4 separate regions of the Homo sapiens genome follow, and all the other regions are linked to region 2. Evidence: promoter capture Hi-C in human tissues and cell types (Jung and others, 2019). All regions are on one chromosome and are shown on one strand. The core of a region is centred on a gene start or on the middle of the fragment in contact, and the rest is flanking DNA. Distances in the headings are between cores, read along the strand shown. Region 1 holds the start of JAK3 (Janus kinase 3). Region 2 holds the start of DDA1 (DET1 and DDB1 associated 1). Region 3 holds the start of SLC5A5 (solute carrier family 5 member 5). Region 4 holds the start of NWD1 (NACHT and WD repeat domain containing 1).

Evidence for each region. The method cuts DNA at HindIII sites, captures the fragments that hold promoters and counts their contacts. A contact is called where the count stands out against the background at its distance.
Region 1: the fragment with the promoter of JAK3 here is called in contact with the fragment with the promoter of DDA1 in region 2 in 3 of the 25 tissues and cell types used here (H1 embryonic stem cells, mesendoderm cells and spleen).
Region 3: the fragment with the promoter of SLC5A5 here is called in contact with the fragment with the promoter of DDA1 in region 2 in 1 of the 25 tissues and cell types used here (mesenchymal stem cells).
Region 4: a contact is called between the fragment with the promoter of NWD1 here and the fragment with the promoter of DDA1 in region 2, in 2 of the 25 tissues and cell types used here (dorsolateral prefrontal cortex and hippocampus).

Annotation. Positions count from the first base shown.
Region 1 is chr19:17,846,586-17,853,071 of GRCh38, forward strand. It overlaps JAK3 (Janus kinase 3), which reads right to left and starts at 1,397. Exons shown (of 24, transcript NM_000215.4): 1 at 1,361-1,397. The HindIII fragment of the contact is 13,300 bases long and covers 1-5,925 here.
Region 2 is chr19:17,306,490-17,313,122 of GRCh38, forward strand. It overlaps DDA1 (DET1 and DDB1 associated 1), which reads left to right and starts at 3,074. Exons shown (of 5, transcript NM_024050.6): 1 at 3,074-3,168. The coding sequence starts at 3,166. MRPL34 (mitochondrial ribosomal protein L34) reads left to right here. Exons shown (of 2, transcript NM_023937.4): 2 at 1-354. RefSeq lists enhancers at 2,377-2,938, 2,660-2,849, 2,939-3,502, 5,728-6,228, 6,229-6,633 and a silencer at 3,290-3,389. The HindIII fragment of the contact is 11,596 bases long and covers 1-6,633 here.
Region 3 is chr19:17,868,037-17,874,139 of GRCh38, forward strand. SLC5A5 (solute carrier family 5 member 5) reads left to right here and starts at 3,909. Exons shown (of 15, transcript NM_000453.3): 1 at 3,909-4,640; 2 at 6,102-6,103. The coding sequence starts at 4,284. RefSeq lists enhancers at 724-1,377, 1,378-2,031, 5,679-6,103. The HindIII fragment of the contact is 15,663 bases long and covers 1,813-6,103 here.
Region 4 is chr19:16,715,253-16,721,186 of GRCh38, forward strand. It overlaps NWD1 (NACHT and WD repeat domain containing 1), which reads left to right and starts at 4,595. Exons shown (of 19, transcript NM_001007525.5): 1 at 4,595-5,041. The HindIII fragment of the contact is 25,691 bases long and covers 1-5,934 here.

The DNA of each region.
Region 1 (6,486 bases), core at 147-2,646, 540 kb after region 2:
TGTTTGTTTGTTTTTTTGAGACGGAGTCTCGCACTGTCACCCAGGCTGGAGTGCAGTCGCACGATCTTGGCTCACTGTAGCCTCTGCCTCCTGGGTTCAAGCGATTCTCATGCCTCAGCTTCCCAAGTGGCTGGGATTACAGGCGCGCACCACAGCGCCCAGCTAATTTTTGTATTTTTAGTAGAGACGGAGTTTCACCATGTTGGCCAGGCTGGTCTCAAACTCCTGGCCTCAGGTGATTCGCCTGCCTTGGCCTCCCAAAGTGCTGTGATTACACACGTGAGCCACATTGCCCAGCCTTTTTATTTATTTATTTATTTTGTAGGGGGGAGGACGGATTCTTGTTCTGTCTCCCAGGCTGGAGTGCAGTGGCATGATCTCGGCTCACTGCAAACTCCACCTCCCAGGTTCAAGCGATTCTCCTGCCTCAGCCTCCTGAGTAGCTGGAATTACAGGCACCCGCCACCAAACCTGGCTAATTTTTGTGTTTTTAGTAGAGATAGGGTTTCACCATGTTGACCAGGCTGATCTCGAACTCCTGACCTCCAGTGATCCGCTGGCCTCAGCCTCCCAAAGTGTTGGGATTAAAGGCATGAGCCACTGTGCCCAGCCCCAGTCGAGTTTAAAATAAGGCTTCAGTGGCAGTGGCGCCCCACTGCAATCCCAGCTACTCAGGGGGCTGAGGCAGCAGGATAGCTTGAGGCCAGGGGTTAGAGACCTGCCTGAACAACATAGCAAGACTCCCATCTCCAAAACAACAAAAAAATCTTAACAGAATATTATTATTCTGTAATACTGTAACAAAAAAAAATGAAAAGTCAGAGGTGATGTTTGGTCCCAGAAAACGCCATAGTTTTTTTGGTTTTTTAAAAATGTTTGTAGAAATGGAGGTCTGGCTATGTTGCCCAGGCTGGCCTTGAACTCCTGGCCTCAAGCTATCCTCCCGCCTCGGCATCCCCTGTTTATAATCCTCAACGTTCTGCATCCTGGTATGGTCGGGTACCCTGTGTCTGGACCGGGAAGGCCTGGAGGGTAGGGGCTGGGAACTCCGCCCCCCAATCCCTCCTTCCCAATCCCTCCTCCCCACCCCCAACCCCGCAGCCCCCGTCGCGCATGCGCAATGACTCCTCCAGGTCCGCAAGGCAGGCATCTCCCGGCCTTAGTCAAAGCCGAAGCCCAGAGAAGCGAGCGATCGGAGGATGCGAGTCTCGGCTCACGTCTGCCTCGCAGCTTTCCTCCGAGGCCTGGAAGGCGAGCTAGCCTTTGCCCTGGCAGCACCCTGCCCCAGCCCAGCCATCCCCCGCCACCACCATCCTCCCCCAGTGTCTGGGCCGAGCCCTGCGGCATCGCCAGCTCTTACCTAGCGGGCAGGGACCCTGGACTTTCGAAGGGCGGGCAGAGCCGGGAGGCAGCGAGAGGAAAGTCCCACTCGGCTCCTTCCTGTGTGGGCCCCTTGGTTTCCTGAGCCACTGTCATTTACCGAAAGTCAGGGCCCTGCGGGAGCTGGGGGCGGGGAGGCGGGCAAGGAGGGGCAGAAAGTTCCGGAAGCCTCTGCATCAGCCGCCCCGTTCAGACAGGCTGCTGGAGACCCCTAAGCCAAAGGAACTGATGATAGCACAGAGAAGGGTCTGGGTCACACCAGGGGCTCAGCCGACTCTAGACCCACTTGTTAAGTGGGGCTCTGGCCCGGCCCTTATTGCCTCAGTTTACCCATCTGTAGCATGTGTGAGTTGGGCACCCAGTGGAACTAATTTTGCACCCAGGGAAGGAAACCTGGCTGGATTTGCCCAGGAGGGAAGCAGGGAAGTTGCCCCAGAGGAAGGTCAAGTTCTTCTTTGAGGTATTTCTCCCTTAAGACTCAGGGAGACGCTGGGCGCAGTGGCTCACGCCTGTCATCCCAGCACTTTGGGAGACTGAGGCGGGCGATTACTTGAGGTCAGGAGTTTGAGACCAGCCTAGCCAACATGGCGAAACTCCGTCTCTACTAAAAATACAAAAATTAGCCAGGCGTGGTGGCCTGTAATCGCAGCACTTTGGGAGGCTGAGGCGGGCGGATCACTTGAAGTCAGGAGTTTGAGACCAGCCTGGCCAACATGATGAAACCCTGTCTCTACTAAAAACAGGAAAATTAGCCAGGCCTGGTGATGCCTGTAATCCTAGCTACTCAGGAGGCTGAGGTGGGAGGATTGCTTGAATCTAGGAGGCGGATGTTACAGTGAGACGAGATGGCGCCACTGCACTCCAGCCTGGCAACAGAGCGGGACTTCGTTTAAAAAAAAAAGAAAAGACTCAGGGAGAGATAATGACCCATTTCTGCCTGTGGTGCCCTGGGCCCAGCCCTAAAAAACCAGGTGGATCCGGCCTGGCCTCTTGGAACTTGTGATCTGGCGCTGAGACAATGAGCAAATGAAGGAGCCAAATCATCGCAGACAACAAAGAAAGCCAGGGTGTCAGGACAGGCACAGACTGGAACTTGGACCCGAGGCAGGACAGGGAGCTGGCCAGGGAAAGGGTGCTCCAGGAGGAGGGCACAGGATGGGCAAAGACCTTGAGAGGGCAGTGATCTTAGCAGCTTGAAGAGCAGTCAGGAGGCCAGGGGCAGGGGTGAGATGAGGGGGAAGGGGACTGCAGGGCGGTCAACAGGGGCAAGATCGTGGGGGGACAGGGGGATCAGGGTCTTTGGGAGAAGGGTGGGTTTTGCCTGGAGCATAATCTGGAGCCACAGGAGAGTTGGAAGTAGGAGCTGTTATAAATAGAAGAGGCAGAAGGCCCGGGCAGCATCCAAATGCAGAGACTTGGGCCAGTGTTCTTAGGATAATAGGATCAGAGCCCCGGAAGTAGAGCTTCAGGAATAGACTGACGAAGTGGTGACCGGGTACAGTGGCTCACATCTGTAATTCCAGCACTTTGGAAGGCCCAGGTGGGAAGATTGCTTGAGCCTAGGAGTTCGAGACCAGCCTGGCCAACATGGTGAAACCCCATCTCTACTAAAAATATAAAAATTAGCTGGGCGTGGTGGCATGTGCCTGTAATCCCAGCTACTTGGGAGGCTGAGGCAGGAGAATCACTGGAACCCAGGAGGCAGGCGGAGGTTGTAGTGAGCTGAGATTGTGCCACCGCACTCCAGCCTGGGCGACGGAGCAATACTCTGTCTCAAAAAAAAAAAAAGGAATAGATTTAAGAAGTTGTGGCCAAGAACAGTGGCTCACACCTGTAATCTCAGCACTTTGGGAGGCTCAGGCAGGAGGATGGCTTGAGCCCAGGTGTTCGAGACCAGCCTGGGCAACATGGTGAAACCCTGTCTCTACAAAAAATACAACAACAACAAAATAATAAGCTGGATGTGGTGGCATGTGCCTGTAGTCCCAGCTACTAGGGGAGGCTGAGGTGGGAGGATCACCTGAGCCCAGGAAGTTGAGGCTGCAGTTAGCTGTGGTCATGCCACTGCACTCCAGCCTGGGCAATGGGAGTGAGATCCCGTCTCAAAAAAAAAAAAAAAAAGACTTTTCATCTCTGTATCACCATCACAAGTCTTAACACAAAATGGTTTGGTAAGTATTTTGTTGATCTTAACTGTTCAATCAGCCAGAGGCTTATTGGACACAGCCTGTGTGCAGGGAATCGGGGACAATGCAGACCCAATCCCTGTCCAGGGGAGCTGACAGTCCAGCAGGGGAGATGGCAATAAACAAGCTATTGCCCAATAATTATATCAGTTGCCCCTGGGACCGGTCTGCTAAGAGAGATGACTGGATCTGGGAGGGCTTCCTGGAGGAGGTGGCTTTGATTCTGAAATCCAACAACAAGTGGGACTAGCCAGAGAGTGACCTGAGAATGTGGGAGTGTGGGCAGTTCTGGCAGGCAGAACAGCCCAGGCAAAGGCCTGGAGGCTTCACGAATTCACAGTGTTCCTGAGAAGAGCAGGATGTCAGGGACACGGGGGGCTGAGACTCATTTGATGGCGTGGGTAGGGCCGCGTGGGTCAAGGGAAAGAGATATAGATTATGTCCTCAGCTTAGTGGAGCTTAGTGGAGCCACAGCTGACCTGCGGCAGGAAGTGCCAAGCAGAAGCTTAGTTGTAGTGTTTTCTTTCACTTCCTGGGTGGCTTCAGCAGACGGGAATGCAACCTTATGTTCTCATCCTTGGCCTGAGGCTGAAGCCTCTGCTTTCCGGAAGTACAGTGAGTTTCTGGGTCTCTGCTACCTCCAGTGTGATGGTTTCTGCAATATTTTGAGAATAAGTAAGAGGAGATTGGGGTGAGGACCAAAGTGGTACCTTCAGCCCCAGAGAAGGGCATGTGAAGGCTCTAAAAGGAAGTTCTGGCCGGGCGCGGTGGCTCACGCCTATAATCCCAGCACTTTGGGAGGCCGAGGCGGGCGGATCGCCTGAGGTTAGGAGTTCGAGACCGGCCTTGCCAACCTGGTGAAACCCCATCTCTACTAAAAATACAAAACGCAGCTGGGTGTGGTGGCGGGCGCCTGCAGTCCCAGCTACTCAGGAGGCTGAGGCAAGAGAATCACTTGAACCTGGGAGGCGGAGGTTGCAGTGAGCCGAGATCGCACAACTGCACTCCAGCCTGGGCGACACAGCAAGACTCCGTATCAAAAAATAAATAAATAAATAAATAATTTTTTTTAAAAAAAGGAAGTTCTGGGGACAGAACCCAGAACTTGCCCGAGAAAAATGGGGCACGTCAGTGATGCAAACACCCAGATTTTTCTGCTGACAAGAAGTCCATAAATACAATCAAAGAATAAAATACAATCAAAGTGTAACTGGAAACAAAATTGAACTCATGGATAAAATATCCTCGTTATATAAGTAACATCTAGAAAGCAGTAAGAAAATGCCAACCAGTTAGGTGGATATGAATCCAGAAGTCAGAGAAAATGGAGGACAAATAGCTCTTAAACCCAGAAAAATTTCCTCAGCTTCACTTGCCAAATGAAAATTAAGAGTACAGTGAGGCAGGGCCAGGCACGGTGGCTCATGCCTGTAATCTGAGCACTTTGGGAAGTCAACATGGGAGGATCATTTGAGCTCAGGAGTTGGAGATTAGCCTGGGCAACATGGTGAGATCCGTCTCTACAAAACATACAAAAATTAGCCAGGCATGGTGGTGTGCACCTGTAGTCTCAGCTACTTGGAAGACTGAAGTGGGAGGATGGCTTGAGTCCAGGAGGCAGAGGTTGCAGGGAGCCAAGATAGTGCCACTGTACTCCAGCCTGGGCGACAGAGCGAGACTACATCTCAAAAACAAAAACAAAAATGGTAAAAGACTGAATAACTTCCTCCTGAGATTGGAAACAAGACAAGGATGTCCATTTTCACCACCTCTATTCAACATTGTTCTGGTGATGTTAGCCACTGTAATAAGAAAAGAAAAAGCAGGCTGAGGCAGGAGAATGGTGTGAACCAGGGAGGCGGAGCTTGCAGTGAGCCAAGATCGGGCCACTGCACTCCAGCCTGGGTGACAGAGTGAGACTCCGTCTAAAAAAAAAAAAAAAGAAAGAAAGAAAAGAAAAGCTGGGCATGGTGGCTCACGCCTGTAATCCCAGCACTTTGGGAGGCTGAGGTGGGAGAATCACAAGGTCAGGAGTTCAAGACCAGCCTGATCAACATGGTGAAACCCCATCTCTACTAAAAATACAAAAATTAGCCAGGCATGGTAAAAATACAAAAATTAGCCGTGCGTGGTGATGCGCGCCTGTAATCCCAGCTACTCAGGAGGCTGAGGCAGGAGAATCGCTTGAACCCGGGAGGTGAAGGTTGCAGTGAGCCAAGATCGCGCCACTGCACTCCAGCCTAGGTGACAGAGGGAGACTCTGTCTCAAAAAAAAAAAAAAAATTAAAAATTGGCAGGGTGTGATAGCTCACACCTGTTGTCCCAGCTATTTGGGAGGCTGAGGATTGCTTGAGTCAGGGAGGACAAGGCTGCAGTAAGCCATCATCACACCATTACACTCCAGTCTGGGCAACAGAGCGAGATCCTGTCTTAAAACAAAAAAATATATGAGAAAAATAAACAAGTCAGGTGTGGCTGGGCATGGTGATACATGCTTGTAGCCTCAGCTACTGGAGAAGCTGAAATGGGAGCCCAAGAATTTAAAGGCAACATAGCAAGATTCTGTAACAAGCAAAACAGAATAAAATAAGTAATAAAAAAAAGGTAAATAAAACTGTTGCTATTTGCTGATGATATGATTGTTTATGTCAAAAACCCAAGGGAATCTATAAGACAACTACTGAAATTAATACATAAATTCAGCAAGTTACCAGGTTTAAAAAGTCCGTTGAATTCAATACAAAAGTCAATTGAATTTTTATACACCAGCAGCAAACAATTGGAACATAAAAAAATTTTGAAAAATTTCCTTTGCAGCAGCACTGAAAAAGATAAAATACTGTGATGGTCTGAGAGTTTGCGTCTCCCCAAAATTAATACATTGAAATCCTAACCTCGAAGGCGGTGGTATTCAGAATCG
Region 2 (6,633 bases), core at 1,824-4,323:
TGCTCTCCATATTGTGGGGTTGAAGTCTGGATGGGAGCTTGCCAAGTCCCTTTTTAGGCTTTTTAATTAGGAAGCATTTCGAACCTGCGCAACAGACCAAAGAACAGTACAAAGAACATCCGTGTACCCAGTACCCTGACTACCGACTACCTACAACCCGTCCCTGCCCCATCCTGAGTTCTTTTGAAGCTGATCTCAGGCATCGGATTATTTCTTCTGTAAATATTTCAGAATGTATCTCTCCAAGATGAGAGCTCATTAAAAGACAATTACAAAGCTTATCACATCCAAAAGAATTATCAATAATTTTGAAATATTATTAAACGTGTAATAAATGTTCAAAGTTCCACTTGCCTTATATGTGTCATAACTCTTTTTTTTTTTTGAGACAGTTTCCCTTTTGTTGCCCAGGTTGGAGTGCAATGGGGGGATCTCGGCTCATTAAAACCTCCGCCTTGCGGGTTCAAGCGATTCTCCTGCCTCACCCTCCCGAGTAGCTGGGATTACAGGCATGCGCCACCACGCCCGGCTAATTTTGTATTTTTAGTAGAGATGGGGTTTCTCCATGTTGGTCAGGCTGGTCTCGAGCTCCCGACCTCAGGTGATCCGCCCTCCTCTGCCTCCCAAAGTGCTGGGATTACAGGCATGAACCACTGCGCTCTGTCCCCCAGGCTGGAGTGCAGTGGCACGATCTCGGCTCACTGCAAACTCCCTCTCCTGGGTTCAAGCAATCTCCTGCCTCAGCCTCCCGAATAGCTGGGATTATAGGCGCCCACCACCACACCCGGCTAATTTTTGTATTTTTAGTAGAGACGGGGTTTCAACCATGTTGGCCAGGCTGGTCTCGAACTCCTGACCTCAGGTGATCTGCCTGCCTCGGCCTCCCAAAGTGCTGGGATTACAGGTGTGAGCCGTCATGCCCAGCCTGTGTCATAAATTTTATAGGTCTGGGAAGACTGGTGGAAAACTGTGTGTGTGTGCGGGGGGGTGTTTGTTTTTGAAACAGGGTCTCGCTCTGTCACCCAGGCTGGAGTGCAGTTGTCGGATCCCTGCTTACTGCAACCTCTGCCTCCTGGGTTCAAGCAATTCTGGTGCCTCAGCCTCCCAAGTAGCTGGGATTACAGGTGCATGCCACCACGCCCAGCTAATTTATGTATTTTTAGTAGAGGGGAGTTTCACCATGTTGACCAGGCTGGTCTTGAACTCCAGCCCATAAGGAGTTTGAATCTTCCACTTGTCCCTTGGGGATGTTTGATTTTGAGCAAGAATTTAACACTGTGAGGTGCATTTGTCGCCTATAAAATGCAGTGCTGGTTTCTCCTCTGCTCTGTTGCTGTTGGAGTAATAATACTTAGTAGCTTCCACTTAGCAACTTCACTGTGCAATTGCTGTGTGCTGGGTGCCCATTCTTTGCCCTGGAAGTCAGGAAGGCAGTTTGGACACAGAGGTGTCAGGGCTGGGAGGGGGATTGTGAGGGCTGTAGGACTTCAGGGAAGGTACCTGACTTGCCTTTTTGAAGAATGCAGTCAGGGAAGTCTTGGAGGAAATGGCAAGGTCTGGGAGAGCCCAGACATAGAAGGAATTGGTTAGAGGTGAGGACACAGGTGGGCAATGAAGACCGCAGGTGCCCATAAATGGGGCCAAGGAGGTGGGATTGAATACTAGGGAGTTACGGGAGGTGGTTGAGCAAGACGGTGTCGAGGAGGAGCTAGGGAGTGTTATGGTTCTTATCTTCTAGGGCTGCTTTAAAAACGTAATAAACACAAGAAGATGCCGGCACGATGGCTCCCAGAACTTTGGGAAGCCAAGTCTGGAGGATTGCTTGAGGCCAGAAGTTCGAGACCAGCTTGGGAAACATAGCAAGACCCCTGTGTCTTTTTTTTTTTTTTCTTTTGAGAGGGAGTTTAGCTCTTGTTGCCCAGACTGGACTGTAGTGGCTTAATCTCGGCTGACTGACACCTCCGCCTTCTGGTTTTAAGCGATTCTCCTGCCTCAGCCTCTTGAGTAGCTGGGATGACAGGCGCCCGCCACCACGCCCGGCTAATTTTTGTATTTTAGTAGAGATGGGGTTTCACCATGTTGGCCAGGCTGGTCTCAAACTCCTGACCTCGTGATCCGCCCGCCTCGGCTTCCCAAAGTGCTGGGATTGCTGGGATTACAGGCGTGAGCCACCGTGCCCCGCCTTTTTTTTTTTGAGACAGAGTCTCCCTCTGTCCGCCAGGCTGGAGTGCAGTGGCGCGATCTCAGCTCACTGCAAGATCCGCCTCACTCACGGTTCACGCCGTTGTCCTGCTTCGGCCTCCGGAGTAGCTGGGACTACAGGCGTCCGCCACCACGCCCGGCTAATTTTTTGTATTTTTAGTAGAGACGTGGTTTCACCGTGTTAGCCAGGACGGTCTCGATCTCCTGACCTCGTGATCCACCCGCGTCGGCCTCCCAAAGTGCTGGGATTACAGGCGTGAGCCACTGCGCCCGGCTGGCTTTTTTTTTTTTTTTTTGAGACTGATTTTCGCTCTTGTTGCCCAGGCTGGAGTGCAATGGCACGATCTTGGCTCACTGCAACCTCCGCCTCCCGGGTTCAAGTGATTCTCCTGCCTCAGCCTCCCTACTAGCTGGAATTACAGGCGCAGAGATGGGGTTTCACCATGCTGGCCAGGCTGGTCTCGAACTGCTGACCTCAGGCGATCTACCCGCCTCGGCCTCCCAAAGTGCTAAGATTACAGGAGTGAGCCACCGCACCCGGCCGAACCTCGCATCTTAAAAACACACAGACACACAAAAGCTCTAGAGAGCCTCGCGGAGCTGTAAACTACAGCTCCCAAGAGACTTCGCGGCCGAGGCCTCCGCCCACTTCCGGATCTCACTTTCATTGCTTCCAAGTACCGGGAGGTGCTTTGCTTCTTCAACCGAACTTGACCACAATGGGAGGAGGCGTGGCAACCAATGGGCGCATGAGTTAGCTGGATGCGGCCAATGGAAGCGTGCAAAGCGCTCCTATGTGGGGGCGGGGCTAGACTGCACACCAATGACAGGGAGGTGGTGGCGCCATCAGTGTGGGCTGTGCCGTGGCTGGAAGTTACTGTGAGGCGGCGGCTAAGAAGGCGGCTCTGGTGGCGGCGGTGGAGGCTGAGGCGGCGGCCGAGGCGGCGACGGAGGAAACAGAAGATGGTGAGGATGGCCTCCAGGCCCCCACTCCCCCTCTGCTAGACAAAATGGCGCTGTGGTCCCACCCACCTCTAGTATCCCCCTAGGCCCCTCTCCGTTCTGCCCGGTCCCCTCAGGTCCGGCCCGCCCCTCCCACTCACCTGTGACCTTCGACCCCCGGACCCTACCGAGAGCTTCCTGCTGATCCCACTGCCACTCCTTCTCCGACCCCTGACCCCATCCAGGATACCAAGCCCTGACAACTCATTCATTTCCGGGTTGCGGCTCCCCCCGGAAATCGTCTGGGGTGGGGATGGGGTCCCGTAAGACCCCCTGGTCTGGCCTCGTTCTCAGCACGCCGGACCTGGATCTCTTCAGTTCAGGAGAATTTGGGAGGCCGGCCTGGGCCCCGGGGCGGGGGAGGGGGCTTGGCACCGCGATATGCAGGGCTTTGTCGCCAAAGGAAGTGCGACATCGCCGATTGTCCCGGTTCCCCGGGCCCTGACCCCACCTCCACCATTCTGGGCCCTTACCCGCCTCTAAGAATGAAAAACTTTTATCTCCGATCCGCATGGATTGTCCCTGTGAAATGAGGGTAGCAGTAGTCTGAACCTCTTAGGGTGGTGACAATTTAGGTAACTGACGTCGTAAAGGACTCAGGATAGTGAATGCTCAACAGATGAGCTGGGTGACTCGAGGCCAGTGACGTTCTCTTCTAGCTGTCCCCTCATTATGAAGTGTGGATCGTCCCCACCTGGCTGTTGGAAGGTTGAAATTCCTTCAGGGTTCCTCAGTCATCCTGGAATTTGGGTCTGGTGGTTCTTCGGGGTTCAGTCTCCCCACCTGAAAAGTGGGATGGTGACCCACCCTCAGAGTGGAACTAAAGCCTCTCCACAACCCCCATTAGTTGGCATCCTGAGGGCTGGGAAGGGTGATGGGAAGCTTGGTCAAGATACCTCAAGTCTCCTTTGTCCCCTGACCCAGAGTCCCAGCCCACAATCCACAGTCCTTGGGATGTGGTGGGGATGAAAGGAAGACTCCCTTTCAGGAAGGAAATGGGAAGGTGGGTTCCTAGTGTGCGGGTCCCCAAGCCTGGGAGTTGTCCTTGATACCTTGGTACAGTCTCATCCCTACAGCCAATCATAAGTGGATTAGATTGTCTCTGCCTTCTGAACACACCTGAATTCATCCATGGCTTCATGCCCTGTTGCAGGTACTGCCACTTCCCACCTGCATACCTGTCCCAGCTTCTTCCCTGGTCTCCTAGCCTTGCTCTCACCCCTTTGGCAGTTCATAATTCACCTGAACCAGAAGGAACTTTTTTTTTGGAGTCAGGGTCTCACTCTGGCGCCCAGACTGGAGGCTCAAGAGATCCCCACACCAGGCTCATTTTTGTACTTTTTGGAGAGATGGGGATTCCCTATGTTGCCCAGGCTGGTCTCAAACTCCTGGGCTCAAGTGATCCTGCCTCAGCCTCCCAAAGTGCTGGTATTACAGGTGTGAGGCACTGCATGGGGCCTGAGAAGGAGGTTGTTTTTTTTTTTTCTTTTGAGATGGAGTCTTGCTCTGTCGCCCAGGCTGGAGTGCAGTGGCATGATCTCGGCTCACTGGAACCTCCGCCTCCTGGGTTCAAGCCATTCTCCTGCCTCAGCCTCCCAAGTAGGTGGGACCCACCACCATGCCCGGCTAATTTTTGTATTTCTAGTAGAGACAGGTTTTCACCATATTGGCCAGGCTGGTCTTGAACTCCTGACCTTGTGATCCACCCGCTTCGGACTCCCAAAGTGCTGGGAGTACAGGTGTGAGCCACTGCGCCCGGCCAGAAGGAGCTTTTAAAGATGTGCATCAAATGATACCACTTTCTAGCCTATAAAATGCTCCAGGAACCCTGGCGGCTCCCCTCCTCACCCTGAGGCCCCTGGCCACCTCTATGACCTTATCTCCACTCTCTTCTCCACTCTGTCTGTGAGCTTCAGCCACCCTGGCCTTGTTTTCACTTCCTCACACTCCAGGTTCCTGCTACCCCAGGGCCTTTACACCTGCTGCTCTTTCTGCTCGGAACACTCTTCCTCCTGTGATCGAGGTCATTCCTGACTTTGGGGGGCCCCCAGTTCTCTGCTATTAGTGTACTGCTTCTCTTTCTCATCTCTTTGTTGGGTCTCTGGCAGGCTACCTGCAGTGGGACTGGCACACAGGTGTCCAGTGCGTGTCTGCTGAGGCACCTGTGAGGGCCCAGCCGTGGCTGGCATTTGTCTGGAATGAGGCCTCCCCCACCCCCTGCCCCCATGTCTCGAGGCCTTGTTTTCCAGCTTAGCATGACAGGAAGGCTGCACGTACCCTGCCTTCATTCATTTGTCCAACGCAGACATGTTGATCCTAAAGGCTGCCCCTGAGGGAGCTCTGTGCAAAGCATTCCCCTTGTTGTCTTATGACTCAGAGTAACCCTGGGAGGTGGCCCTGTTGGAATGCGTCTCTTCACAGGGAGGCCCAGAGGCTGGGAAGTCCCTCGTCCCAGGTCACACAACCAGGGACGGGCTAAGCCAGGATTGAGAGCAGAATGCCCGGAGTACCTGCACCTCTCGCCACTCAGCCACCGGGCCCTGTGTGAGCCCGGCCAGGGTTCAGTCAGCCCTGTCCTGTCCTCTTCCCTTGGGGAGGTACCAGTCCAGCCAGGGAGGTGGACATGTAAGCAGATGACCTCGCCGGGGTGTGAGGGAGGCTCTGGGAGAGGCTCCCGAAGTGTCGGGGGAACAAAGGGGCCAGGGAGGGTGTTGGAGCTGGTGGGGAGGTTAGCAGGTATTTGCCACATGGAGGCATGAGGGGCATTCCTAGAGGGTGTGTGTGGCAGAGGGTGTGTATGATGGGAGTCCAGCAGGGGCAAGCTGGGCCAGGGCTGCGAAGGGGGACAGGGACCCCTCCTCACCCTTCAGGTCTCAGTGCCTGCATCCCTGCGTCTGGGCAGCCCTCCTTTATCCCCTAAATGGGCCAGAGCTCTGCCTTGCACCTCACACTGCGCCCTCGAGGCACCCTGTCCTGCAGCCGCTTCCTGTGCACTGTGCAGCTCTTTGCCCCACACCATCTCAAGGCCAGGCGCGTGGCCATGGTGGCTCAGTCCAGTGCCCTGGTGCCTGCTAGGGCCCCAGAAGACCTTGCTGAATGAATGAAGCTGGCCCCAGAGCCGGGTGCTGAGCTGAGGCTGGCATCCTAGGGTGGGAGGGGAGGCAGGTTTGAGGGACTTTGAACAGGTCCTGGGGCAGTAGGTCATCCAGATGTGACGGCTGCCTCCCGGGTGGGAGGGGGAGGCCCACCCAGCCACATTCCGGCTTCCCGAGAGGGACCAGCAGAGGAGGGGCCAGATGTCATAGAATTGGGGACACTGCTGTTCCTGCCTGTCCCAGAGGGTGGTGGGAAATTGTCTGAATAGCAGCTTCTCCCAGGGCAGCTCTCTTGGGCCTCAGGCATCAGGGGATGGCCTTCCCTTCCAGCTCT
Region 3 (6,103 bases), core at 2,659-5,158, 560 kb after region 2:
AAGTGCAGTGGCGCAATCACCGCTCACTGCAGCCTCAACCTCCCCAGCTCAACCAATCCTTCTGCTTCAGCCTCCTAAGTAGCTGGGACCACAGGTGCACACCACCAAACTCGGCTAACTTTTAAAAATTTTTGGCTGGGCATGGTGGCTCACACCTGTAGTCCTAGCACTTTGGGAGGCAGAGGTGGGTGGATCATGTGAGGTCAGGAGTTCGAGACCAGCCTGGCCAACATGGTGAAACCCCTTCTCTACTAAAAATACAACAAACAAACAAACAAACAAAATTGTAGAGTTGGGGTCTCACTATATTGTTCAGGCTGGTCTCCAACTCCTAGCCTCCAGCCATCTTCCTGGCTTGGCCTCCCAAAGTGCTGAGATTACAGGCATGAGCCACCGAAACTGGCCTTTTTGCACTTGTTGAGTGCAGAGTTGAAGTTCAAGGACAGATTCTGGCTCCCCATGGCGTGGGTTCAAATCCCACTGTCACTCCTAGCTCACAGAAGGGGAATTGATGTCCAGGGCCACCCAGCAGGTCGTGCTGCAGTCACAGCAGCTCACAACTTCTCACCCCAACCCCTGCTGCATCTCCCAGGGAACCAAGGGGCAGGGGACAGCGCCCCGACACTGCCACCACTCTCCCATTCCTGCACATTCTGCTCACATTGTCTGCCGCGGCCTTGGGCCCTTCCTAACTCACATCCTGGGGTCCTGCTGCCCGCTTCTGTCATTGGAATCACAGTCAAGGAAGGTGTGACCTGATTCTCCCCACTCTGCTGCTTTTCCTCTCCAGGCTCACAATTCCCTCCGCTAGGGCAGGAGATGGTCCTGCACACTCTGCAGGGGCCTTCACTCCAGGCCTCCTTAGGAATTCCAAAGTGCTTTCCAAATCCACCCCCCTCCCCCCACTCGGCAGCCACCCCACTCCCGCCACTTGGATATGACCCATTTTTCAGAATCTAGAAATCTCATCAGACTCCTCACCTGCTCCAAACTCTCCTACAGTTCCCCAGCACCCTCAGAACAAAATCCACACCCCTTCCGGAGGCCCAGAAGATACCCCGTGATTGTCTGTCTCTGCTCAACCTGTATCCAGGCTGGAATTCACTGGTGTGATCACTGCTCACTGCAGCCTTGACCTCCCGGGCTCTGGCGATCCTCCCACCTCAGCCTCCCAAAGTGCTGGGATTATAAGTGTGAGCCACAGTGCCCAGCTGAAATCAGTATTTATCTGCTGGTGAGGTCAGGGCCATCACCACCCTGGGGTGGGTCCACCTGGATCATGCTGTGTCCCCAGCACCTGCCGGAGGGCCCTGCACACAGTATGCACTCAATGAACCGGCCTCAGCCCAGGCCTCTGGCCGCAGCCTGGACCCCACGGTGGGAAGAAGAGAAGCTATGCCTTCCCAGAACTTCCCTGGAGAGAAGGGGTCCATTTACATGTATTTGCACAATTTGCATATGTTTACATTGGTCGGCAGGGCTTTGCAAGTAGGGGATCCCGCTCGGATCTCCCATTGATTGATTGATTGATTGATTGAGACAGTCTCGCTCTGTCGCCAGGCTGGAGTGCAGTGGCACGATCTCGGCTCACTGCAACCTCCGCCTCCCGGGTTCAAGCGATTCTCCTGCCTCAGTCTCCCGAGTAGCTGGGACTACAGGCGCGTGCCATCACGCCCGGCTAATTTTTGTATTTTTAGTAGAGACGGGGTTTCACCACGTTGGCCTGGATGGTCTCGATTTCCTGACCTCGTGATCCGCCCGCGTCGGCCCCCCAAAGTGCTAGGATTACAGGCGTGAGCCACCGCGCCCAGCCTTGATTTTTATTTATTTATTTGTTTATTTATTTATTTTTTGAGACGGAATCTCTCTCTGTCGCCCAGGCTGGAGTGAAGTGGCGCGATCTCGGCTCACTGCAACCTCCACCTCCCGGGCTCAAGCGATTCTCCCGCCTCAGCCTCCCAAGTAGCTGGGATTACAGGCGGCCGCCACCACGCCCGGCTAATTCTTGTATTTTTAGTAGAGACGGGGTTTCACCATGTTGGCCAGACTGGTCTTGAACGGATCTCAAGAGACCCGTCCGCCTCGGCCCCCCAAAGTGCTGGGATTACAGGAGTGAGACACCGCACCCGGCCGGATCTCCCCTTTTCCAACGGGGTTTCCAGGAGGATGCCTGACCAGGGTGGAAGGAGAAAGAACTAGGTGCCTAACCCACTCTCCTGGCGAGGGCAGGAGGTACGCTCCAGCCGGCAACAGGTGCCCGCGTAGCCGCCGCAGTGTCACAGCCCCGGGGGAGGGACAGGTCCACCCTGCACAGCAGAGAGGGAGCAAGAGGACTGTCCGGGGGTTACGTGGGGACGCGTTGAGAAACGCTGGACCCAGCTGGAGCGGCCAGGGCAGAGGGTAGGCCAGAGGAGGCCACCAGGGAGCAGCAGAGGCTGGCGAGAAGCGCTCAAAAGCCCTTTTTTTTTTTTTTTTTTTTTTTTTGGAGACGGGGTCTTGCTGTGCTGCCCAGGCTGGAGTGCTGTGCAGTTCTCGACCACAGCTCATTGCAGCCTCGAACTTCCACGCTCAAGCGATCCTCCCACTTCAGCCTCCTGAGTAGCTGGGATTACAGGCATGTGCCACCACGCCTCGCTAATATTTGTATTTTTCATACAGACAAGATCTCACTATGTTGCTCAGGGTAGTCTCGAATTCTGGGACTCAAATGATCCTCCCACTTCAGCCTCCCAAAGTGCTGGGATTACAGGCATAAGCCATCATGCCCGGCCTCTGACGCTGTTTCTTTCAACCCCCAGGATTTCAGATTCCACCAGCTTATGGAGAAGGGAACCAAGTTTGAGATGCGTGATTGCCCAGAAAGTTGGAGGCTGAGCTGAGACTTGAACCCAGAGACCAGAACCTCCAGAGGTCAAAGTCCTCCTGGGTCCCCCAGAGAAGGGCCCTGAGATGACAGCTCGTTGGTCCTCATGGAAGCGTGACCCCCCCAGTAGACTTTCTCCCACACCCAACCTTGGTTTCCTCATCTATATGATAGGGACAAGCCAGACTCTACCTCCCTGGTGGTCATGGTCTCCGCTTATTCGGGTTCATAACCTTAAAGGCCCCTCGCACCACCTCAGTGAGCCATTTATGCCTGGCACAGGGCCAACTCTCAGTGCATATCTGCAAAGGAACCAATGAATGAATGAATGAAGTGACAAATGAATAAAGGAATAAATGAATGAGGCACTTATCATGTACCAGGCTTTCGTTACCACGTCCCATTTATTCCTCTGAGGCAGGGTCTATTTTATCCTTGTTACAGATGGGGAAACTAAGGCCCAGGGAGGAGCAAAGTCTTCCCCAAGTATGTACCCACTCAGAACTTGAGCTCTGAATGTCTCCCACCCAGCTTAGCCCAAGAGCGGGGTTCAGTGATGCCCACCCCCTAAGGCTCTAGAGAAAGGGGGTAGGCCCACATGCCAGTTTGGGGGTGGTAAAGCCAGGTAAGTTTTCTTTATGGGTCCCCTGAAACCCTGAAAGTGAACCCCAGTCCTGCATGAAAGTGAGCTCCCCATAGCTCAAGGTATTCAAGCACAATACGGCTTTGAGTGCTGAAGCAGGCTGTGCAGGCTTGGATAGTGACATGCCCTCTCTGAGCCTCAATTTCCCCACCTGTCAACAGCAGACAGTGACAGCTGTGATCAGGGGATCACAGTGCATGGGGATGGGTGGGTGCATGGGGATGGAGGGGCATTTGGGAGCCCTCCCCGATACCACCCCCTGCAGCCACCCAGATAGCCTGTCCTGGCCTGTCTGTCCCAGTCCAGGGCTGAAAGGGTGCGGGTCCTGCCCGCCCCTAGGTCTGGAGGCGGAGTCGCGGTGACCCGGGAGCCCAATAAATCTGCAACCCACAATCACGAGCTGCTCCCGTAAGCCCCAAGGCGACCTCCAGCTGTCAGCGCTGAGCACAGCGCCCAGGGAGAGGGACAGACAGCCGGCTGCATGGGACAGCGGAACCCAGAGTGAGAGGGGAGGTGGCAGGACAGACAGACAGCAGGGGCGGACGCAGAGACAGACAGCGGGGACAGGGAGGCCGACACGGACATCGACAGCCCATAGATTCCTAACCCAGGGAGCCCCGGCCCCTCTCGCCGCTTCCCACCCCAGACGGAGCGGGGACAGGCTGCCGAGCATCCTCCCACCCGCCCTCCCCGTCCTGCCTCCTCGGCCCCTGCCAGCTTCCCCCGCTTGAGCACGCAGGGCGTCCGAGGACGCGCTGGGCCTCCGCACCCGCCCTCATGGAGGCCGTGGAGACCGGGGAACGGCCCACCTTCGGAGCCTGGGACTACGGGGTCTTTGCCCTCATGCTCCTGGTGTCCACTGGCATCGGGCTGTGGGTCGGGCTGGCTCGGGGCGGGCAGCGCAGCGCTGAGGACTTCTTCACCGGGGGCCGGCGCCTGGCGGCCCTGCCCGTGGGCCTGTCGCTGTCTGCCAGCTTCATGTCGGCCGTGCAGGTGCTGGGCGTGCCGTCGGAGGCCTATCGCTATGGCCTCAAGTTCCTCTGGATGTGCCTGGGCCAGCTTCTGAACTCGGTCCTCACCGCCCTGCTCTTCATGCCCGTCTTCTACCGCCTGGGCCTCACCAGCACCTACGAGGTACCGGACAGAGGCCCGGGGGTAGGACCTGCCCCACTGGCAGTGCTGGGACCCCGTGTGGGGGAGGCGCTGGGGCTTTGGGCCGCTGTACAGGAGGACGCGGATGGCACCTCGGTGCTTTAACGGAAGGGGCCCCTAGGCAGACACGTGGGGAGGGTTCTAGGAAGAGGCCCCAGGCGCCCGGCGAGGGGCAGGAAGGAGGAAGAGAGAGCCTGGCGTCCTGCTCCTTCGGTGGAAGCGCGCGCGGGGCGGGGCCCGGCTCGACCAGGTGTGTCCTCACGGGTGGACACACACCTGCCCCCCACCTGCCCGGGCGTGCAGACCCACGTGTGCGCGCTAGAGGGGACTGCTGACGGCTCCGGGGTTCGAAACCTGGCTTCACTGCTTTCTTGTATCTTGGGCAAGGGGCGTGCCTCTCTGTTTGGGTTTCCCAGCTGTCCAATGGGCGAATTACAGGACCTCCCTCCAGGGGAGAGGGTAAAGCGATTAAAATCGTGACCGGGGCCCGGTGCGGTGGCTCACGCCTGTAATCCCAGCACTTTGGGAGGCCAAAGCATGCAGATCACCTGAGGTCAGGAGTTCAAGACCAGCCTGGCCAACATGGCGAAACCCCGTCTCTACTAAAAATACAAAAATTAGCCGGATGTGGTGGTGGGCACCTGTAATCCCAGCTACTTGGGAGGCTAAGACAGGAGAATTGCTTGAACCCGGGAGGTTGCAGTGAGCCGATATCGCGTCACTGCACTCCAGCCTGGGCGACAGAGCGAGACTCTTGTCTCAAAGGAAAAAAAAATATTGTGGCAGGGCGCAGTGGCTCACGCCTGTAATCCCAGCACTTTGGGAGGCCGAGGTGGGTGGATCACGAGGTCAGGAGTTCAAGACCAGCCTGGCTAACATGGTGAAACCCCGTCTTTACTAAAAATACAAAAATTAGCCGGGCATGGTCGCGCGCGCCTGTAATCCCAGCTACTCAGGAGGCTGAGGCAGAAGAATTGCTTGAACCTGGGAGGCGGAGGTTGCAGTGAGCCGAGATCGTGCCAGTGCACCCTAGCCTGGGCGACAGAGCGAGACTCCGTCCCCCCTCCCCCCCAAAAAAATCGTGACAGGTATATCCTAGGCGGCCAACACCATTGGCCCGGGGCACTGTCTACACTGTGCGCTTGCGGGCCACGTCGGTGTCTGCTGAGCGGTGGCTGCTCCAGGAGCCCGCGCCCGTCAGGCGCAAGTGGGAGGGCGCGTGCACACGCATGGACCAGTCCTCCAGGTCCACGGGGTACGCACAGGCACGGGATGGCACCTGTGCACGGGTGTGTGCGTGCGGCGGGGCCCCCACGTGCAAGAATCTGGCGGGCGCGGTTGGCTTCCGGAGGGAGGGGCCCACCTAGAGAGCAGACCAGGGACCCGAGAGGCCTCGGCTCCTGGGTAAGGACTGTCCAGGTGACCTCGAGTCCCTCCTTGCAGTA
Region 4 (5,934 bases), core at 3,345-5,844, 590 kb before region 2:
TCTTCCTTTGAAGTTTGGACGGGCACAGTGGCTCACTCCTGTAATCCCAGCACTTTAGAGGCCAAGACGGGTGGATCACCTGAGGCCAGGAGTTCAAGACCAGCCTAGCCAACATGGCAAAACCCTGCCTCTACTAAAAATACAAAAATTAGCCAGGCGTGGTGGTGGGCGCCTGTAATCCCAGCTACTCAGAGGCTGAGGCAGGAGAATCGCTTGAACCCAGGAGGCAGAGGTTGCAGTGAGTTGAGGTCATGCCACTGCACTCCAGCCTGGGCAACAGAGTGAGACTCCATCTCAAATAATGAAACAAACAAACAAAAAACAAAACAAAAACAAAACACCAGAATTTTTTTAGTGACATTTGCTTTTCTCTAGCTTACTTATTGCAAGAATACAGTATATAATACATAGAATGTAGAAAATCAGTGTTCATCGACCATTTATGTCATCAATAAGGCTTTTGGTCAATAGTAGGTGTTACATGCAGTCAAAAGTTACATGCAGATTTTTGACTGTAGGGGTGAGCTTGGCACTCCTAACCCCTGTGTTGGTTCTAAGGTTGACTACACAGAAATCCCCTAGCCCTGGGCTCGTGGTTACTCAATGCATAAGGATAATCACGATTTTTTTTTTTTTTTTTAAAACAGGGTCTTGCTCTGTCACCCAGGCTGGAGTGCAGTGGTGCAGTCATAGCTCACTGCAGCCTCAACCTCTTGGGCTCAAGTGATCCTCCCACCTCAGCCTGCCCAGTAGCTGGGACTACAGGCATGCACCACCAAGTCTGGTGAATTTTTATTTTTTGTAGATATGGGATCTCACTATATTGTCCAGGCTGGTCTCGAACTCCTGGGCTCAAGCAATCCACCTGCCTCAGCCTCCCAAAATGCTGGGATTACAGGCGTCAGCCAACATTCCCAGCCACTATTTTTTTTTTTTTTTGAGACAGTCTTGCTCTGTCCCCCAGGCTGGAGTGCAGTGGTGTGATCTCAGCTCACTGCAACTTCCGCCTCCTGGGTTCGAGCAATTCTCCTGCTTCTGCCTCCCAAGTAGCTGGGATTACAGGCATGCACCACCACGCCTGGCTAATTTTTTTTTTTTTTTGTATTTTTAGTAGAGATGGGATTTCACCATGTTGGCCAGGCTGGTCTCAAACTCTGGGCCTCAAGTGATCATCCCGCCTGGGCCTCCCAAAGTGCTGGGAGTGTGCCCGGCCCCAGCCACTATTTTTTAAGAGTACAAAATTGAAGCATATTCTGATAGGGAATTTAAAACACTCACTAAAGTAGGCAGAATAGTATAATGAACCGCAGCCCACCCTAACCACCATCACCCCCTACTCAACCTCGCCAACCCCGCCCCCATCCCATTTGCCTTCCTGTCAGGTATTATTTTGAAGCAAATCTCAGCTATCTTATCATTCCATAAATATTTTGTTATATGTCTCTAAAACATACACACTCTTTTTTTTTTTTTTTTGAGACAGGGTCTCACTCTGTTGCCCAAGCTGGAGCACAGTGGCGTGATCACGACTCATTGCAGCCTCAACTTCCCAGGTTCAAGTGATCCTTCCACCTCAGAGTAGCAGGGACCACTGGCACATGCACCATGTCTAGTTAATTTTTTAATTTTTTGTAAAAATGGAGTCTCAATATGTTGGCCAGTCTGGTCTTGAACTCCTGAGCTTAAGTGATCCTCCTGCCTTGGCCTCCCAAACTGCTGGGATAACAGGCATGAGGCACTGCACCTGGCCCAGACTCTTTAAAAGCCTAACCAGTCTGGGCATGGTGGCTCATGCCTGTAATCCCAGCACTTTGGGAGGCCGAGGCGGGTGCATCACCTGAGGTCAGGAGTTCCAGACCAGCCTGGACAACATGGTGAAACCCCGTCTCTACTAAAAATACAAAATATTAGCCAGGTGTGGTGGCAGGTGCCTCTAATCCCAGCTACTCGGGAGGGTGAGACAGGAGAATTGCTTGAACGTGGGAGGCGGAGGTTGCAGTAAGCCAAGATCATGCCATTGCACTCCAGCCTGGATGACAAGAGCAAAACTGTCTCGAAAACAAAAACAAAAATAAAAACAAAAACCTCACCGCAATACCATTGTCACACTGCAAAAACTTTGCCAATAATTTTTTAATATCTGTAGATTCCAGTTTAGCCAATAACTGTGGAGTTTTGGAATCATATCCGAATTTGGCTGTTAGCTCACTTCCTTGCCAAGGAAACTTGGGAAATTGTTTAACTTCTTTGAAGCCTATTTTCTTTCTTCTTCTTTTTTTTTTTAAACGCAGTCTCACTTTGTCACCCAGGCTGGAGTGCAATGGCGTGATCTCGGCTCACTGCAACCTCCGCCTTCCGGGTTCATGCGATTCTCCTGCCTCAGCCTCTCGAGTAGCTGGGATTACAGGTGCTCACCACCACGCCCAGCTAATTTTTGTATTTTTAGTAGAGACAGGGTTTCATCACGTTGGTCTGGAAGCCTGTTTTCATCATCAATGAACTGGGATAGTAAATTGAAGCCCCCAGATTGCTTGGAGTATTGGAGACAGTATGTTTCCTAAAATTTCAGCCCCTAAAACTTCTTTTCTTTTCTTTTTCTTTTTTTGTTTTAAAGAGACAGGGTTTTGCTCTGTTGCCCAGGCTAGAGTGCAGTGAGGCAATCATATCTCACTGCAGCCTTGACTTTCTGGGCTCAAGTAATCCTCCCACCTCAACCTCCCGAGTAGTTGGGACTACAGGCACACACCACCACGCCCAGCTAATTTTTTGTTATTGTTGTTGTTGTAGAGATGAGGGTCTCACTATGTTGCCCAGGCTGGTCTTGAACTCCTGGCCTTGAGTGATCCTCCCACCTTGGCTTCCCCAGTAGCTGGGACTACAGGAGCATGCCACTGTGCCTGGCAGCACCTGAAACTTCTTTTTTTTTTTTTTTTGTGAGATGGAGTGTAGTGTGGCTCTGTCGTCCAGGCTGGAGTGCAATGGCGTAATCTCTGCTCACTGCAACCTCTGCCTCCCAGGTTTAAGTGATCCTCCTGCCTCAGCCTCCCAAGTAGCTGGGATTACAGGCACCTGCCACCATGCCTGGCTAATTTTTGTTTTTAGTAGAGATGGGGTCTCACCATATTGGCCAAGCTGGTCTCAAATTCCTGACCTCAGGTGATTTGCCCACCTCGGCCTCCCAAAGTGCTGGGATTACAGGCATGAGCCACCGCGCCTGACCAAGTATCTGAAACTTCTATCCCTGAAAATATAGTAACACTATTATTATTACTTTTTCTTTGAGATGGAGGCTTGCTCTGTCGCCCAGGCTGGAGTGCAGTGGCGCAATCTCGGCTCACTGCAAGCTCCACCTCCCAGGTTCATGCCATTCTCCTGCCTCAGCTTCCTGAGTAGCTGGGACTACAGGTGCAAACCACCACGCCCAGCTAATTTTTTGTTTTTTGTTTTTTGTTTTTTATGTAGAGACAGGGTTTCACCATGTTAGCCAGGATGGTCTTGATCTCCTGACCTCGTGATCTGCCTGCCTTGGCCTCCCAAAGTGCTGGGATTACTGGCGTGAGCCACCATGCCTGGGTGACTTGTGAGTTTTTGAGACAAAGTCTCGCTCTGTCACCCAGGCTGGAGTGCAGTGGTGCGATCTCGGCTCACTGCAAGCTCCACCTCCCGGGTTCATGCCATTCTCCTGCCTCAGCTTCCTGAGTAGCTGGGACTACAGGTGCAAACCACCACGCCCAGCTAATTTTTTGTTTTGTTTTGTTTTGTTTTTTTTGTAGAGACGGGGTTTCACCGTGTTAGCCAGGATGGTCTTGATCTCCTGACCTCGTGATCTGCCTGCCTTGGCCTCCCAAAGTGCTGGGATTACTAGCGTGAGCCACCATGCCCGGGTGATTTGTGAGTTTTTGAGACAAAGTCTTGCTCTGTCGCCCAGGCTGCAGTGCAGTGGCAGGATCTCGGCTCATTGCAACCTCCAACTCCCAGGTTCAAACAATTCTTGTGCCTCAGCCTCCCAAGTAGCTGGGATTACAGGCATGCGTCACCACGCCCAGCTAATTTTTCTATTTTTAGTAGAGATAGGGGTCTCACCATATTGGCCAGTCTGGTCTTGAATGCCTGACCTCAGGTGATCCGCCTGCCTCGGCCTCCCAAAGTGCTGGGATTACAGGCATGAGCCACCGTGCCCGGTCTTGGAGTTTTAATGGTAATTAATCATGGCTAACATCTCACGGGCCCTTCCTGTGATGTAGGTGTAGTGTTAGTCTCACTCTCTATATAAATGCTTTTCATTGTCTCACCAACACAGGAAGTTAGTGAGAAAATTCAAGTGCAGAGTAGTGAAGCGTCACAGGCAAGGGACTTCACCTTTCTGCATCTTGTTTTCTTCATCTGTGAAACAGGATCATAATGTCTGTCTCTTGGGGTAATAATGTGGACTGCTAATGCCAAATGCCAACCAACTGCACCTCCTAGACTGTCAGCAAATGGCATCTTTTACGAGGAGCCGTATCAGCCTGGCACACAATAGTTAACCACTAAGTCTGGGCTGAATGCCCGGCTAAGCTGGTGCCCTAGTGCAAACAATCGCTTTCATTATCCCAGTTGCTGGGAGAATTGGGCAAGGAGAGACCCATAAAATACCTAAGACGAAAGTTACTAGGATAGCCAGGGGCTTGTCTTCCGGGTGGCGCCGAGGCCAGGAAACTGTCCTCTCTAACCTATTTCCCCAGAGGAGTCTAAATTGGTCGTTCAACTACCAGCAAAGGCTAAAGAGAGGCTGGAGCCCCCAGGACAGCCAGAACGCTGACACTGCAAAGGGCCTCTGTCCTTACTGGGGAAGCCCAGTCCTGCTCAGCTGTCTTCTTCAGCAACAAACAGAAGTCCAGAAAGAGAAACAGTTGTGGAGGAAGCTGTTGTGATGATAATTTACTGAGCACCTACTATGTGCCAGGCACGCCAGCCTTACCAGACAAGATCCTTGGGCTCATGGAATTCACTTTCTCGTGGGACAGACAAACAATAACATGTAGAAACATATCAGCTGTTGGTGAGTACCATGCAGAAAATTAAAATAAGGCGATGGCATTGGGAGTGACTTAAGGGGTCACTACGCAATGGGATGGTCAGAGACAGCCTCTCAGGAGGAGGTAGCATTGAAGCTAAAATGTGAACAACATGAACAGATGCAGCATAGAGCACTAAAGTACAGGACGTGCAAAGGCCCTGAGGTTGAAATAAGCTAAATGCATTAGACTAGGGGGTTCTCGAGTAAGGGGAATTCTGCCCCCTAGGGGACATTGCAATGTCTAGGGAGACTTTTTTTTTTTTGAGACGGAGTCTCGCTCTGTCACTAGGCTGGAGTGCAGTGGCGTGATCTCAGTTACTGCAAGCTCTGCCTCCCAGGTTCACACCATTCTCCTGCCTCAGCCTCCTGAGTAGCTGGGACTACAGGTGTCCGCCACATGCCCGGCTAATTTTTTGTATTTTTAGTAGAGACGGGGTTTCACCGTGTTAGCCAGGATGGTCTCGATCTCCTGACCTCATGATCTGCCCTCCTCGGCTTCCCAAAGTGCTGGGATTACAGGCGTGAGCCACCGCACCTGGCCGAGACTTTTTCTTTTTGAGATGGAGCCTTGCTCTGTTGCCCAGGCTGGAGCGCAGTGGCACGATCTCGGCTCACTGCAACCTCTGCTTCCCGGGTTCAAGCGATTCTCCTGCCTCAGGCTTCCGAGTAGCTGGGATTACAGGTACATGCCACCGCGCCAGCTAATTTTTGTATTTTTAGTAGAGATGGGGTTTCGCCATGTTGGCCAGGCTGGTCTCGAACTCCTGGCCTCAAGTAATCTGCCTGTTTTGGCCTCTCAAAGTGCTGGGATTAGAGGTGTGAGCCACTGCACCCAGCCTAGGGATACTTTTTAATTGTGACGACTTTGGTGGTGG